Regions from separate parts of the Homo sapiens genome. Here all the other regions are linked to region 3. Evidence: promoter capture Hi-C in 16 types of primary human blood cells and fetal thymus (Javierre and others, 2016). All regions are on one chromosome and are shown on one strand. The core of a region is centred on a gene start or on the middle of the fragment in contact, and the rest is flanking DNA. Distances in the headings are between cores, read along the strand shown. Region 1 overlaps MAML3 (mastermind like transcriptional coactivator 3). Region 2 overlaps MAML3 (mastermind like transcriptional coactivator 3). Region 3 holds the start of NAA15 (N-alpha-acetyltransferase 15, NatA auxiliary subunit).

Region 1 (4,834 bases), core at 1,872-4,371, 770 kb before region 3:
CCCCACCGCAACTGTAAGATAGTTACTATCTATCATCAGCCCCACTTTGAGGATAAGTGAACTGAGGCTTGGAGTGGTTTAGTGGTCACAGAACTTTATGATAGTTGGAATTTGAATTCTAATCTGTTTGGCTCGAAAATTCAATGTTGTATTGAGAAGGGGGCAACGTGATGGAAGAAAGCATTGGCCTTCCCAGTGGAGTGATGCTTCAGGGCTGCCTTTGATGCGGGGCTGCAAGATTTTGTTGGGTGAGGAGGGAACAACCCTCTGCTTCCTTTTATGGCAGTACTGATGGGGGAAGTTTTGTATGAATCAGAAACATTGATTTTGTAAGTTATGTTGATAAGATTCCTGCTTAGACATGGAGAGATCAAGAATGATTCTCTATGGCATTTCAGGTTAAAGAACTTGAAAATGTTTGTTGGAGATAGGATTCCTGCTAGGTGCGGTGGCTCATGCTTGTAATCCCAGCACTTTGGGAGGCTGAGGTGGGTGGATCACCTGAGGTCAGGAGTTCAAGACCAGCCTGGCCAACATGGCGAAACCCCAAAAATACAAAAATTAGCCAGGTGTGGTGGCGGGCGCCTGTAATCCCAGCTACTTGGGAGGCTGAGGCAGAGTGAATTGCTTGAACCCTGGAGGCGGAGGTTGCAGTGAGCCGAGATTGCGCCACTGCACTCCAGCCTTGGCAACAGAGTGAGACTCCGTTTCAAAACAACAGCAACAACCACAACAAAAAAGAAAAAAACAAAAACAACAACAAAAAAACAAAAACGAGATAAGATTCCTTCCCTGTGTCTGCCCGCGAGCTGTCTGGAACCATGCACCAGTCAGGAAATGGCAACTTGTGGCAGCCCATCTTGGGGAAGAACAAACTGGATGGTTAGAAGGGACAGAAAAGATGCAGACAGGTTTCAGGGAAAGATGGTGTCCACACAAAGGCCCATGTGTTAAAGAGGCCAAATACTAGCTCAGAATCAGCAGCTAAGAAAAGGCACTTTCTGGAAGCCTCAATAAATCAGGCAAACCAAATGGCAGCAAGAGAAGTAGGCATAGGTGAAGCAGGACTTCCAGGGGCCTGGAGCCTAAGACTTTGAAGAGACAGGAGAAAACTGCAGAGTCAGTACAGGATGGAGGAGAGTTTTTTCATTTCAACCACAAAAGTCTCATTTGTCTCCTTTTCGTGCTCACACCTTATCCTGAGATCTCCACCAGCCAGGAAGTTTGCCTGAGCTTTATTGCTCTTGTTTTACAAAAAAATGCATTTTCACTTTGAACGTACAAAATTAAAATGGTAACTTAAAAATATATTGGAGAAAATATCTAAGGGAGCATCCTTAGTCCCCATAATATCTTATTTGATCTTCACAGACCTTGGTTGGGGGATAGAGAGGGAATATTCCTAGAAAGAATAAATAATAACTTTTATATTATATTATATATATATAAATGGGCCAGGTGTGGTGGCTCATGCCTTTAATACCAGGGCTTTGGGAGGCTGAGGCAGGACGATCACTTGAGGCCAGGTGTTTAAGACCAGCCTGGGCAACATAGGGAGGCTGGGTGTGGTGGCTCACGCCTGTAATCCCAGCACTTTGGGAGGCCAAGGCAGGTGGATCCCTTGAGACCAGGAGTTCGAGACTAGCCTGGCCAACATGGCAAAACCTCATCTCTACTAAAAAGACAAAAAATTAGCTGGTTGTTGTGGTGCATGCCTGTAGTCCCAGCTACTCTTGAGGCTGAGGTGGGAGAATCGCTTGAATCCGGGAAGCAGAGGTTGCAGTGAGCCAAGATCATACCACTGCACTCCAGCCTGGGCGACAGAGAGAGACCCTGTCCCCCTCCGCCCCCACCCCCAAAAAAGACTAGCCTGGGCAACATAGGGAGACGTCATCTCTACAAAAAAAATTTGAAATTGGCCAGTCATGGTGATGTGTGCCCATGGTCCCAGCTACTTAGGAGGCTGAGGTGGGAGGATTGCTTGAGCCCAAGAGTTCCAGGCTGCAGTGAGTTATGATAGCACCATTGCACTCCAGTCTGGGTGATAGAGTGACATCCTATCTCTAAAAATAAAATAAAATAATATGTATCTATGTTTAACTTTCACATTGTGCTTTAAAATATATAAAGTGCACATACATATATGTTCTTTATAACGCTCTATGAGGAAAATTGGTTAGCGAACTCATTAATTGCTAAACATCTAGATTTTGATGTTAAGAGCACAAGAGACTTGCATTTTGTTAACTTGTTTTTTTCTACACATCTATATTTTACTTTTTTCTTAATTCTTTAATGCAGTTAATTTTGGAAAATCTCAGACAGGTGAAAAGTACCTTGACACTGGAAGGAGACATAACCTGGAACAAATTCCTGTCTCTGCCACTTGCTAGCAATGTGACCTTGGCCAAATAGCTTAAATTTCCCAAACTTCAGCCTTCTTATGGATAAATTGGCACTAATAACCTGCCTCACAGAAATGTTATGAGCATTAAATGAGATGATAGATCTAAAGCACTTAACAGTGCTGAGTCTATCATAAGCGTTCAGTAAAGTAAACTACAGGTTGAGTATCTCTAATCCAAAATGCTTGGGACCAGAAGTGTTTTAGATTTTGGATATTTCTGGATTTGGGAATATTTGCATATATATAATGAGATATCTTGGGACTGGGACCCAATTCTAAACACGAAATTCATTTATTCTTCATATGCACCTTGTACACATAGCCTGGTAATTTTATACAATATTCTTAATAACTTTGTGCATGAAACAAAGTTTGTGTACATTGAACTATCAGAAAGCAAAGGAGTCACTATCTCAGCCATCCATGTGGGCCATCTGTGGTTGTTTGGCATCACCGTCATTCCTGACTGTGAATTTATATGGCCCCTATAAGCAATCATTTTCTTACACTTACACACATAAGTACTTAACACTAAAATATGACATACTATGAATACAGTGAAAACTAATGTGCTCAGGGTAACTAAGCAGCACAGTAGCATCACCAGAAGAGCTGGGATGCGGAATAGACTGCATGTTGTGTGCTTGTATTTTGACTGCGACCTGTCATGAGGTCAGGTGCAGAATTTTCCACGTGGGGCATCATGTTGGCACTCACAAAGTTTCAGATTTTGGAGCATTTCAGATTTTAGATTTTTAAATTAAAAATGTTCAACCTGTATGACTGTTGCTGTTAGCTGACCCTTCCGAGGTCATTTGTGGTGGCAGCTGAGGATTCTGCCTTATATGTTTTCAAAGGACCAGGGGGTTGCTGGTAGGTACAAGGAAGGAAGAAGCTGGGGAATAGCTGGGGATGAATAATGACCCTCTCCCTCATAGTACACATGTCCTCTTTCTTTCTTTCTTTCTTTCTTTCTTTCTTTCTTTCTTTCTTTCTTTCTTTCTTTCTTTCTCTTTCTTTCTCTCTCTCTCTCTTTCTTTCTTTCCTTTCTCTCTCTCTTTCTTTCTTTCTTTTTCTTTCTTTTTCGAAGTCTCACTCTCTCGCCAGGCTGGAGTGCAGTGGCACAATCTTGGCTCATAGCAACCTCCACCTCCCGTGTTTAAGCTATTGTCCTGCCTCAGCCTCCCGAGTAGATGGGACTACAGGTGAGCGCCACCATGCCCGGTTAATTTTTGTATTTTTAGTAGAGATGGGGTGTCACCATGTTGGCCAGGATGGTCTTGATCTCTTGACCTCGTGATCTGCCCGCCTCGGCCTCCCAAAGTGCTGGGATTACAGGTATGAGCCACCACACCTGGCCACGTGTCCTCTTTCTGATTACTTTGCTCCCTGCTCCAAACCAGGCCTCCTGTTTGATTTTGGTGACCCCAGTTTCTCATTAATATCCTCCTCAGAACTTTCCAATCAAGGCACTAAAATGAGTTGCAAAAAGCAACATATGGATTATTTTGAAGACTATTTTTTCTAGCTTTAGAAGCTGTGAATGTTGCTTGACTCACATACACCCCCTGTCCCCAAAATGGCAGGCGGAGGGTATGGATATCCCCATATCTCATGTCTCTTGTATACTGTGGGTGCCTGGCACAATACCTCACAGCCAGGAAGTAGGTGCTCACTGCAGGGTGGGAGAAAGATCAAAACACCAGGGAACTCATCTATAGTACCAGAGTCTCTCTGATGGAAGTCTATAAGAAATTTTGTTGAAAAAGTGAAGGGTTGGGCGAGGTGGTTCACGCCTGTAATCCCAGCACTTTGGGAGACCTACGTGGGTGGATCACTTGAGGTCAGGAGTTTGAGACCAGCCTGGCCGACATGGTGAAACCCTGTCTCTACTAAAAATACAAAAATTAGCCGGGCATGGTGGCAGGCGCCTATAATCCCAGCTACTTGGGAGGTTGAGGCACGAGAATTGCTTGAACCCAGGAGGTGGAGGTTGCAGTGAACCAAGATCTTGCCACTGCGCTCCAGCCTGGGTGACAGAGAGAGACTGTATCTCAAAAAAAAAAAAAAGAAAACATGGATATAAATTGGTATGGAAAGCCAGATGGTTGCAGATTTGTTGATTTCCAGTTCTCCCATAGATTTTATAGTGCTCATGACCAGCCATCCTCCTCCCTCCCTAGACAAACACACTTTCTGTTGGTCAGGTTGAGAGGCGACTTAAATTTAGAGAAATTTCACCCAGGAAATGCTCATATTGGGATGAACACATAGGACCCCCTGTTTCTTTTTACATCTTCTGTGTTAGCCCAGAAGAAGTGACAAAGAAGTGGCAACTTCATGCAGCGTATCCTCTTCTACCTCCCTTTTATATTTTTCTACTGGTGAGGTACAGCTGTCCCTTGGTGTCCATGGGGGATGGCTACA
Region 2 (4,551 bases), core at 1,627-4,126, 800 kb before region 3:
GGCCTCAGGAGAAACCAGCCTTGCTTGGCACCTTGATCTTGGACTTCCAGCCTCCAGAACTGTGAGAAAATAAATTTCTGTTGTTCAAGCCACCCTGTGTTATTTTCTTACGGCAGCAATAGCAATTGCTAAATACAAATATAGGAGAAAAATGAAGTCTCTCTAGGATTCCATTTCCCATCTTGAAGATGGGGCTAGAAATCGTTTCTACAATAGAGAGTTATATGAGAATAAACAACATAATGTAATCAATATAGTGCCTCAATTCATGCCTTCTCATAGATGGAGAATTTATGCCCACAAGCACAGGCTAGTGTCCATTTTCTAATAACTCAGCTTTTTGCTGAGTACTTAGCATTAAAACAAAACAACACAAATCATTTATACATGTTAAGTTTCAAGTTTCCCACTTCATTTTGCCTGGCTGATGGCTCTTAGAAGACACAAACTTATGGCACAGATGACTTCTTCTGGTTCTAACTTGTGTTATCTCTTTTTCAAAAGTTAGTTAAATTCTCCATATATTTTAGTGTTGTTCTATTGGCTAGAAAGACAAAACAAGGGGAATCTGGCAAATGTAAAAAAAAAAAAAAAATGCTCAGCTGACCCAGCACGTGGAATTGCATTTACTAATTTAGGCTATTTTATATAGTGGAATAACATATTTGCAAAATGATGATAGTACCTTGAGTTTACCTAGCCTTTTTTTGGCCAAGGAACTGAAGGTGTTTTCAGTCCATAACCTGATTTCATTTCTAATTTACACTGATCTAAGAGGTATCACGTATGCTTCTCTTCATGTGATAGCTAGGCAAATGAAGACACAAACATTTCTTCCTCATATACACAAGAGATGTGGATGGTAAAAGACTGAAATGGAGGGTCTCCTGGCTTCCTGAGTAGAATTCTACCAAATTGTTCCTGAAGTTATTAACCACATTTGCCCCAATATCTGTTGACAGATAGAACAGCTGTGGGTAAACTGAACTTATCTGAAAGAAATGTGTATTATACATTACACAAGTGCATTACAACTGCAACTGTCCAAGAGCCTGGTGAGTTTCTCATCCCTTCAACTAGACCATCAGTGACTTGGGAGCTCTATTCTACACAAGGCCACTTTCCTCCCTTTAGAGGAAAAGTGTTCTATTAGGTAGGGTAGGACGCTGGGCCAAAAGGGATTAAAATTGTGTTCCTGTTACCTATTGCTAACTAGCAAACCACACCAAAACTTGACGGCTTAAACAACCATTATTTGATTATATCTGTGATTTTGTTCAAGCAGGGCTCAGCTGAGTGATTCTTCTATTCCATGTAGCGTCGACTCTGGTCCCTTGCTGTTAGTCAGTCAATGGCTGCTCTGATCTGGAGGATCCAATATGGCTTCACTCACCTTCCTGGCACCTTGGCAAGGATGCCTGGAAGACTGAGCTCCCCACTGGGCCTGTCTGCCTCTCCATGGAGCCTTGGAGCCATTCCATGTGGTTTCTCCATTAGGGTACTCATATTTCTTACAGGGAAGCCCAGGGTTCCAAGAGACCAAGGCCAAAACTGTTAGTCATATTAAGCACTAGGTTTGGAAATGGCATAATATCACTCCCATATTCAAAATCACTCCCATACTTGATTGGTCCAAGCAGTTATAGGCAACTCACCTTTAAAAGTGGTGGACGCAGGTTGTGGAATAGACACATCTGTCCATGGAAGAAGGATCAAAGAATTTGTGGTCATTTTTAATCTACCACATATGGTGTATACCTCTGTGGTTTGCTGAGGTTTTTGAAATCTTTTTTTTTTTTAATACACCTAAGACTTCATTTTAAGTGCATCTTAGTTTTGCCAGAATTTGAAGCACTTTGGGAATGGCTTGCTCCGTTTTTACATTATACAAACATACACACACATATATATGTTTTTCCACTAAGAAATGCCTCTATTCACAGGGGCATTGTTTAGTTACTTCTATCCTCATTCTGTCCTTTCAGTTCAATAAATTATCTGTTTGGTTTTATTTTCTTCTTGCAAGGAAGGATAAAACTTGAGGACTGTTTGTAAAAATGAATACAATTTGGTCTCTGTCATGGAGGAACTGAGTCTAGGGGGGTGGACCCTCATAGATATGGATAACTGGAGAACAAAAGTTTAAATAATAAACTTGAGAAAGGCATAGACACATGAGTGGAGGCTTGAGTCAGCAGAGGAAATCCGGGAACGTTGCAGAGAGGAAGTGGCACTGGGGCTAAGCCTTGAAGGAGACAGTGATCTCTACAGATGGGAGGGGGTGGAGTGGGGCTGGCATCCCGGAGGAGTGGCAGTGAGAGTCCATGCACCAGAGCAGATGGCATGCTCCACTCACAATGACTGGGTGCCTGGAACGTGGGGGCTGCGGTCGTTCAAGGGGCAGGGGTGGGGTGGTCATGGGGGAGTTGAGGCTGAACAGATGGGTTGGGGACACGTGGACTTTCTCTGAATGCAGATTTGTTCTGAATGTTATCACCATAGGAGGATTTGTGACAGGGAGTGCCATGATCAAATTTCTGATTTTTGAATGTTGTTTGTAATAGCAGGTTTGGGATGGTTTGAAGGAGTAGTAGACAAAAGGCTGAAAACCCTGTCGGAGAGCAGTAGTCCAGGAGAGATGAAACTGAGTGATAGAATGGAAAAGAAAGGTTTTGAGAGGTGTGTTGGGGAAGGGAGGTTGGAGAAATAACTTTCTGATTGCCAAACATGTGTTCAGACATTCTGCTCATCCTTTATCTAATTTAATTTTCACCAAAATCCATTTTTCATATGCAGTAACTGAGGCTTTGAGATGTTTAAAAACCTCCTAGCTAGAAGTGAATAGGATTGAGATTCAGAGCCAAGCATGTTTGGCTACAAACTGTCTATGATTTCCCATGAAACCTTGCCTTACCCACTGAAAATAACTCCAGGCGGGAGGATTGCTGGAACCCAGGAGTTCGAGACTGCAGTGAGCTATGATGGTGCCACTGTATTCCAGTCTGGGTGGCAGAGTGAGACCCTGTCTCTAAAAACAAAGACAGAAAGAAAGAAAAAAAAGAAAATAGCTACAGATTTCTTACTTGTGAGACTGGGTGGATGCTTGTGTCAGTAACAAAATTAAGAACTCAGTATTTTGCTTAAGGCTTTTAAAAAAGTTTTGCTCCTGAGTTGTTTGTGTGCACGTGTGTGTGTGTGTGTGTGTGTGTGTGTGTGATATACTTCCAATGTGAACAGAGTTTTATGAACACTTAAAAGTTTTTAGCTAGTGTCTATCAATTCTATCAACAGGAATGTAACAGATCAAAAAGTACTGTAAAACATACAATTCATGTCAATTTTACTGTCCTTATTTTTTTGTGCATAAATTATTCTTGGCCTCATAACTGATTTTATTGCACATTACAATCTTGTAAACAAAGAGCCTATTGTACCACATCTGGAACAGACCGAGACATCAAGGGAGGGCTGGGAAGCAATGGGGAGGAAAAGTAAAAATGAGTCAGAGAAACAATGTAGCAGTTCATGTGGGAACTTCCTCTGAATAGAGGGTATCCCTCCCCCACCTCAAAATAAGTCACCTTTCTCATTTTAAGAGCAAAAAGGCAAGAGAGACAGCAACCTATGTCTCTTAAGTTCTATTTCTGTCTAAACCCTGGAGGCCAGGGTGTGGGTGGCTCCAGGGCTCTGCTTTTGGGTCCCCAGGTGAATAGCCCGATGCAGACCAGTAGCCACATGGCCTTTGTGCCCAGGACTCATGGGCAGCGTGAATCTCACTTGAAAATTCAATCCTTGGTGCAGAGCACCATGAGATATTGAAAATAATGGTGTTTGGCATTGGTACTGCGTCCAGTTGGTTTCATTTTCACAGGCTTTCAGAGCCCCTGAGAAGTCCTGGTGATGATACGGGAAGGATAAGAAAGGGGGAATCTGGCTTCTCCCTTTGGTTGGTGAGGCTCTGTGTTTACAACACAGCCTGGCGTATACGAGGTGCTCAATAAATATTTACTAAATGCATGATTGCTTGAATGCCATGTGCCAGCTTCTGTTAAGTGCTTGCCAGCTGATATTTCACTTAATCTTCATAAAAAATGATGAAACCTAGTTCCCCATTACACAGATGAAGAAAACAAGGTCTAGAGAAATAATTTGCCCAAGGACGTGCGCATTGTATGTAATAGAGCTCGGATTCAAAAAACCTTTGCCCTTTTGAGCATACTGCGAATATTTTGAGTGAACTACAAATGTTCTTTATCACAATATTGTTTGGGTATAAATAAACACACTTCACATATGCAAAATAGAAGTTCTCCCAGTTTTTGAAAATGTGAGAACTCTTAAGAACTCCCTGGACCGAGCACATAATTAATAGGTGTTCAGTAAATGTTGAATAAATGAACGATAGCTTATTCTCTCTATTCTAATACTTCGTAGTGGAGAAAAACGTGGAGGACTTGAAGGCTTTTAGCTTTTAATAAAAATGCTCTTTTCAAGACAGGTTTCTTAATACAGGCAGGTTGACAAAAATGCCAAGCCAGTCAGTGATAGCTG
Region 3 (4,886 bases), core at 845-3,344:
TCTCGAACTCCTGACCTCAAGTGATCCATCTGCCTCAGCCTCCCAAAGTGCTGGGATTACAGGCATGAGACACCGTGCCCAGCCTAGAGATAAATTTTACATCTACAACTTACTTTTATACAAATGTATATATACATATACATAGGGAGAGAGAAAGCATATATGGCAAATAAATATAAGTAAAGGTTTATGAGTGTTCCTTGTTCTCTCAACTTTTCAGTTTCATTTTTTTCAAAATAAAGAATTGTGAAAAAGAGATTAAAGATAAATTGCTATTCTAAACTTATGTTACAGTTCTACCTGCACACCAATTAGTCTTTTTAAGGGTTTAAAAGTAACTTTTTTCCTAAAACTATTTTACAGCTCCACCTACACTCTTAGTCTTAAAACAAAACAAAATTCCAGTAAGAATTTCAAGGTAACAGTTTTGCGACACTGCATGTGACTTTCTAATGTTTTTCAAAATGAATTCACTAAATCTGTAGGGCATATGGACACTTTTGTAAAATCAAAGTTAGTTCAAATGGATGATTATTCATTTCTAGAAAAACTGAATCCCCAGAGTTGTTCTACTTTTCAAACAGGTGAAATAAATTATAACTGCGGGGGAAAAGGCTAACACTTTCACACACACATCCCAAATTTTAAAAGTCTTAAATTTGGCAAATACAGTTAATTCTATCATAAGGAAACGTTTGCGTGAAAGGGGGAACCCACATACTAAATGCCAAACAAAAAATGTGCTACAATGTGTTAATTATAGCTCCAAGGCTACAGGACATATTTTACAATGTAAACAGTCCCTGCAAACATCAATGCATTTATGGTTTAAAAAAATACAAACTGCACACATTTGAACCGTAGGGAATAAGTCTGAGCTAGCGTCAACAAAATCCATCTCAAAAGTTCTTATATTCTCATTTCTCTGGTAAGTTTTTGCATGTGTTAATATACTTCAGTGTATAAGAAAAGTCTAGGTCTGCAACGTTTCAACTAAAGACTCAACTTTTTACTTCCTACCGAACCGCCCCCTCGCAATGGGCCCCACCTCCCGAGAAGAGTGACGGGGTGGGGCTGTTTCCCGCTCGGAAACTAAGAAATAAATGCCTCATCCCTACTCCAGAAACGAGAACAACGGAGGCAGAGGAGCTGAAGACTCCAGTATGCAACTGACTACAAGGAGGTAGTCGTTTGAAAAGCTTTCTTTCCTTCTCTGAACTCCTTCTTTCCCTCCTCTCAGGTCATTGGGTGACCCCGGGCCGGGCGGAGACAGGTGAATCCCAAGAGAGGAGGAAGAGGGAGGGACAGATGATGGAGGGAGAACCGCGTTTAGGCAATGAATGAGCCTGCTGCATCCGCACCACCTGTTCCTTCCAAGGGTGCCACCCCGACCTGCCAGCAGGGTTCCCACACCAACCGGGCCGCGACTCCTGCCGGTGTCGCCCACTTGCCCGCCAAAGGCCGGGCCTCTTCTCCCCCAGATCGGGGAGAATGAGAACCGGCAGTCTAGAAGCCGGGAGGTCGGGGCCTAGTCCGGAACCAGGGCCTCAAGCGTGGGGATGGAATGAAGAAGCCTGTGGTCCCTGGCGCGCGGGCCATAGTAGGAACCACAGAGAGGGAGCAAAGCAATGCATTCGGCCTGACGAGAGCTATGAAGGCGGGGTCCCGGGCGGGAGTGGCTCAGTGCCCGCCGGGCCGAGGTTAGGGGTGACAGGCCCGGTTACCGGCTAAATCCTCCCCACCGCTTGCCCGGAGCCTCACACTTACCAAGATCCGCTTGAAGAGCGCATTCTCCTTGGGCGGGAGGCTCACGGCCGGCATCGTTCCGGCTGCTCCCGCTGCTCCCGCCACCACCCGGCTCGGTCAGTCAGTTTGTCCGACCGCCGCCGCTGCCGTTCCGTAGCTGCTTCAGCCTTGAATATCTCGATCCGCCGCCACCACCAGGCCTCGGGTGTCGCCGCGTTGCCCTACCCGGACACCTCCTTTTTCCTCGTTGTCTTTTTTCCTTTCTCACTTAACGCTGCCGCCGCCTCCCCCACTACGGGTCTCCGTCGGCGGTTCACGTGGTAACTGAACAGACCGACAGAGGCAGCCAAAATGGCGGACGCGGAGGGTTTTCCCACCCGGGTCACGCTTCCTAACACGCAGGCGCGGTGACCTCCTTTCCCCACCTCCTCTGGGTTTCGGAGCTTGCCGGGAAACCTGGAGGCTGGCCTGCCTGTGGAGGCCGGGAGGGTCGGGGCAGGCCCCGCCCATCATTTCAGTGCGTGGTACCCTCGAAGCGCCCGCGGAGCTACGGGAGGCTAGGCAAGTACGGTTCAGACCGCCTCCTCATCAAAAACAGCCTCTCTGGCGCCTTCCTGCTAGATCGACCTTTCATTCCTTGGAAAGAGTCTCGCACACTGTGTGATCATCGTTTGAGCCCAAAGTGCTAAAATACAGGTGTAGGTGTTTGAGAAGCGCTGTAGTTGATTATGGACGAAATGCCTAATTTAAGGAGCAGAGGCGGAGTGGAAAATGAAAAAAGCTTCACCGCAGTGGAGACTTGTTAACAGCCCTGGGGAGAAAGGGGCTTAACAGAGTCTGGAAATCGTGAAAGAGCTTGACCGATGAAATGGGCCTGGCTGTCGTATCGGTAATTTGGTGAATGTTGCTTAAGATCAGCCTGGAAAGGTAGTTAGTCAGATCCGAAGTGACATATTTGCACTGCCAAAGGAGGCTCTGGAGGTTAAAGTATGTGTTTTAATTTCGTTGTTGAGGCCATATAATGCAGAGTTGACGGACCGACCTTATGAGTCACCTTGGAGCGGAGTAGTGGAGACTTAAAGACAGACTACCCTGGAGCTGGCTTCAAACTAGTTCTTAATATTGTGACTCGAACTCCCCATCCCCAGAAATTCTCAGATCTTAGAAGCCAAAGACTGGCAAGGATACTAGAGGGAACTACTCGAGTAGGCGAGGTCAGACTACATACCGAATAGGAGTCCTTCCAAAAATGTAAGTCATTTCATTAACAGCTGACCGTAAAACTTTTTCAAAGTGGCATTCCATTGATCTAAAAATTTTCAAGTTATATGAGCCACTTTTAACCTTTGGTTTTTGATTACCTCTTTCCAAATCCTGATTTCACTCTGTAGCATTCTTTGCATCATGAATTATTAAACAATATGTGCGTGTTTTTTACTGTTTTAAATTTATTTGCAAAGATATTTTAATTTTCAAACTTCTCTTAACTGTCCCTGAAAGGTGTGAGTTGAGATACATGTTTCCCAATATAAACTTGGGTTTTGTAGCTGCTATATTGATTGTCCTCGCCCTTCACCGGGGTCATAAATAAGGTTTTTAACAGTCAAATCCTGGAGTTTCCTTAAATTCTGTGATCTCTCTTCAAAAGTTTGAGAAAAATCATATATACAGGAAACTATGTTTCAGTTTGAAATATGGCCAGTATTTTAACCTTAACTTTATAAAACTAAGAACAAGCTTATAATTCATTTTTAAGCTGTTACTTAGTAATAACCTGCAAAATTCACTGCCCCAAGAGATCTTTCAACTGTCTGAACTATTGAAAGACAGAAAAAATAGTCTAAATGCAGTTGATAGTTTTAGCTTGGATTTCCAAATCTCTGGCTTCATATCCAAATTTCTGGCTTCATATCCAAAAATCCCTACAGCAATACTATTTGCTATAGTTCTCTAAATTTCTCCTGTAAAGAATATTCTATTTTCCTTCAGAGGAAGAAAATTTCTGGTCTTTGAAACAATCAGTAGCTTCCACCAGAACCTGAGTACCTGATTAGATGAGCCAGAAATAGAGTTTGGCAAATGTTACATTCTTTTTGGGTGATGACAAAGAAATGGCAATTTTAAAGGCTCGGCAAATACTAGTCTGATTCAACATTTAACTGATTCATTTGCTAGTTAAAATGCACCTACAGATAACAGTCTGACCACACAGTAGCCTGAATTGAATAAAAAAATATATATTTACTCTGATCACCACAATTTCACAAATAGAGATCCCATTTGAGTTATACTGTAAGTAACAGCCATGCTTTCAGAAAGTTAACATATCCAAGGCTATATGCTGCCGCTGCTGCTGCTGATGATAGTTAATTCATCTTACCCCATGTGCTTGCATGTCACTATGTTCCAAATGCTAACTCTAAAAAATATTAACCAAAAAGAAAGAAATAAAATCATTTACCTTGCAAACTTTAATTCTACAAAAGGGATATGTTGAGTGAAATTTCTCCATATATGTAAGATGTTCTCTATTGAGACTGTTACATCTTATTAAGTACTTGGATCTTATTTAAAAAAAAAAAAAAGGCTGGGCTTGGTGGCTCACACCTGTAATCCCAGCACTTTGGGAGGCTGAGGCGGGCGGATCACAAGGTCAGGAGTTCAAGACCAGCCTGACCAACATGGTGAAACCCCGTCTCTACTAAAAATACAAAAATTAGCCGGGTGTGGTGGTGCGTGCCTGTAACCCCAGCTATCCAGGAGGCTGAGGCAAGACAATCGCTTGAACCTGGGAGGTGGAGGTTGCAGTGAGCCAAGATCGCACCACTGCACTCCAGCCTGGACAACAGAGTGAGACTACATCTCAAAAAAAAAAACATAGGCCAGGCATAATGCCTCATACCTATAATCCCGACACTGGGAGGCTGAGGCAGGAAGATCGCTTGAGCCCAGAAGTTTGAGACCAACCTGGGCAACATAGTGAGACCCTGTCTCTACAAAAAAATTTTAAAATTTGCCAGGTGTGGTGCTGTGAGCCTGTAGTCCCAGCTACTTTGTGGGCTTGGGTGGGAAGATTCCTTCGGCCCCAGAGGTCGAGACTGCAGTGAGCTGTGATGACACCTCTGCTCTCCGGCCTGGGC

What was found. Contacts are between HindIII fragments. The CHiCAGO score rates a contact against its expected background, and 5 or more counts as called.
Region 1: a fragment that was not itself captured here is called in contact with the fragment with the promoter of NAA15 in region 3 in 1 of 17 cell types (activated CD4 T cells); the score reaches 5.3 in activated CD4 T cells.
Region 2: a contact is called between a fragment that was not itself captured here and the fragment with the promoter of NAA15 in region 3, in 1 of 17 cell types (total CD4 T cells). The highest score is 5.5, in total CD4 T cells.

What each region holds. Positions count from the first base shown.
Region 1 is chr4:140,072,785-140,077,618 of GRCh38, reverse strand. The region is part of intron 1 of MAML3 (mastermind like transcriptional coactivator 3); the gene reads left to right. Among named protein-coding and RNA genes, the nearest start is that of MAML3-AS1, 53 kb to the left of the region's middle. The HindIII fragment of the contact is 7,999 bases long and covers 1-4,834 here.
Region 2 is chr4:140,097,895-140,102,445 of GRCh38, reverse strand. The region is part of intron 1 of MAML3 (mastermind like transcriptional coactivator 3); the gene reads left to right. Among named protein-coding and RNA genes, the nearest start is that of MAML3-AS1, 28 kb to the left of the region's middle. The HindIII fragment of the contact is 7,579 bases long and covers 1-4,551 here.
Region 3 is chr4:139,298,713-139,303,598 of GRCh38, reverse strand. It overlaps NAA15 (N-alpha-acetyltransferase 15, NatA auxiliary subunit), which reads right to left and starts at 2,094. Exons shown (of 20, transcript NM_057175.5): 1 at 1,768-2,094. The coding sequence starts at 1,821. NDUFC1 (NADH:ubiquinone oxidoreductase subunit C1) reads left to right here and starts at 1,122. Exons shown (of 6, transcript NM_001184989.2): 1 at 1,122-1,183. RefSeq lists enhancers at 2,044-2,103, 2,584-2,703. The HindIII fragment of the contact is 1,328 bases long and covers 1,202-2,529 here.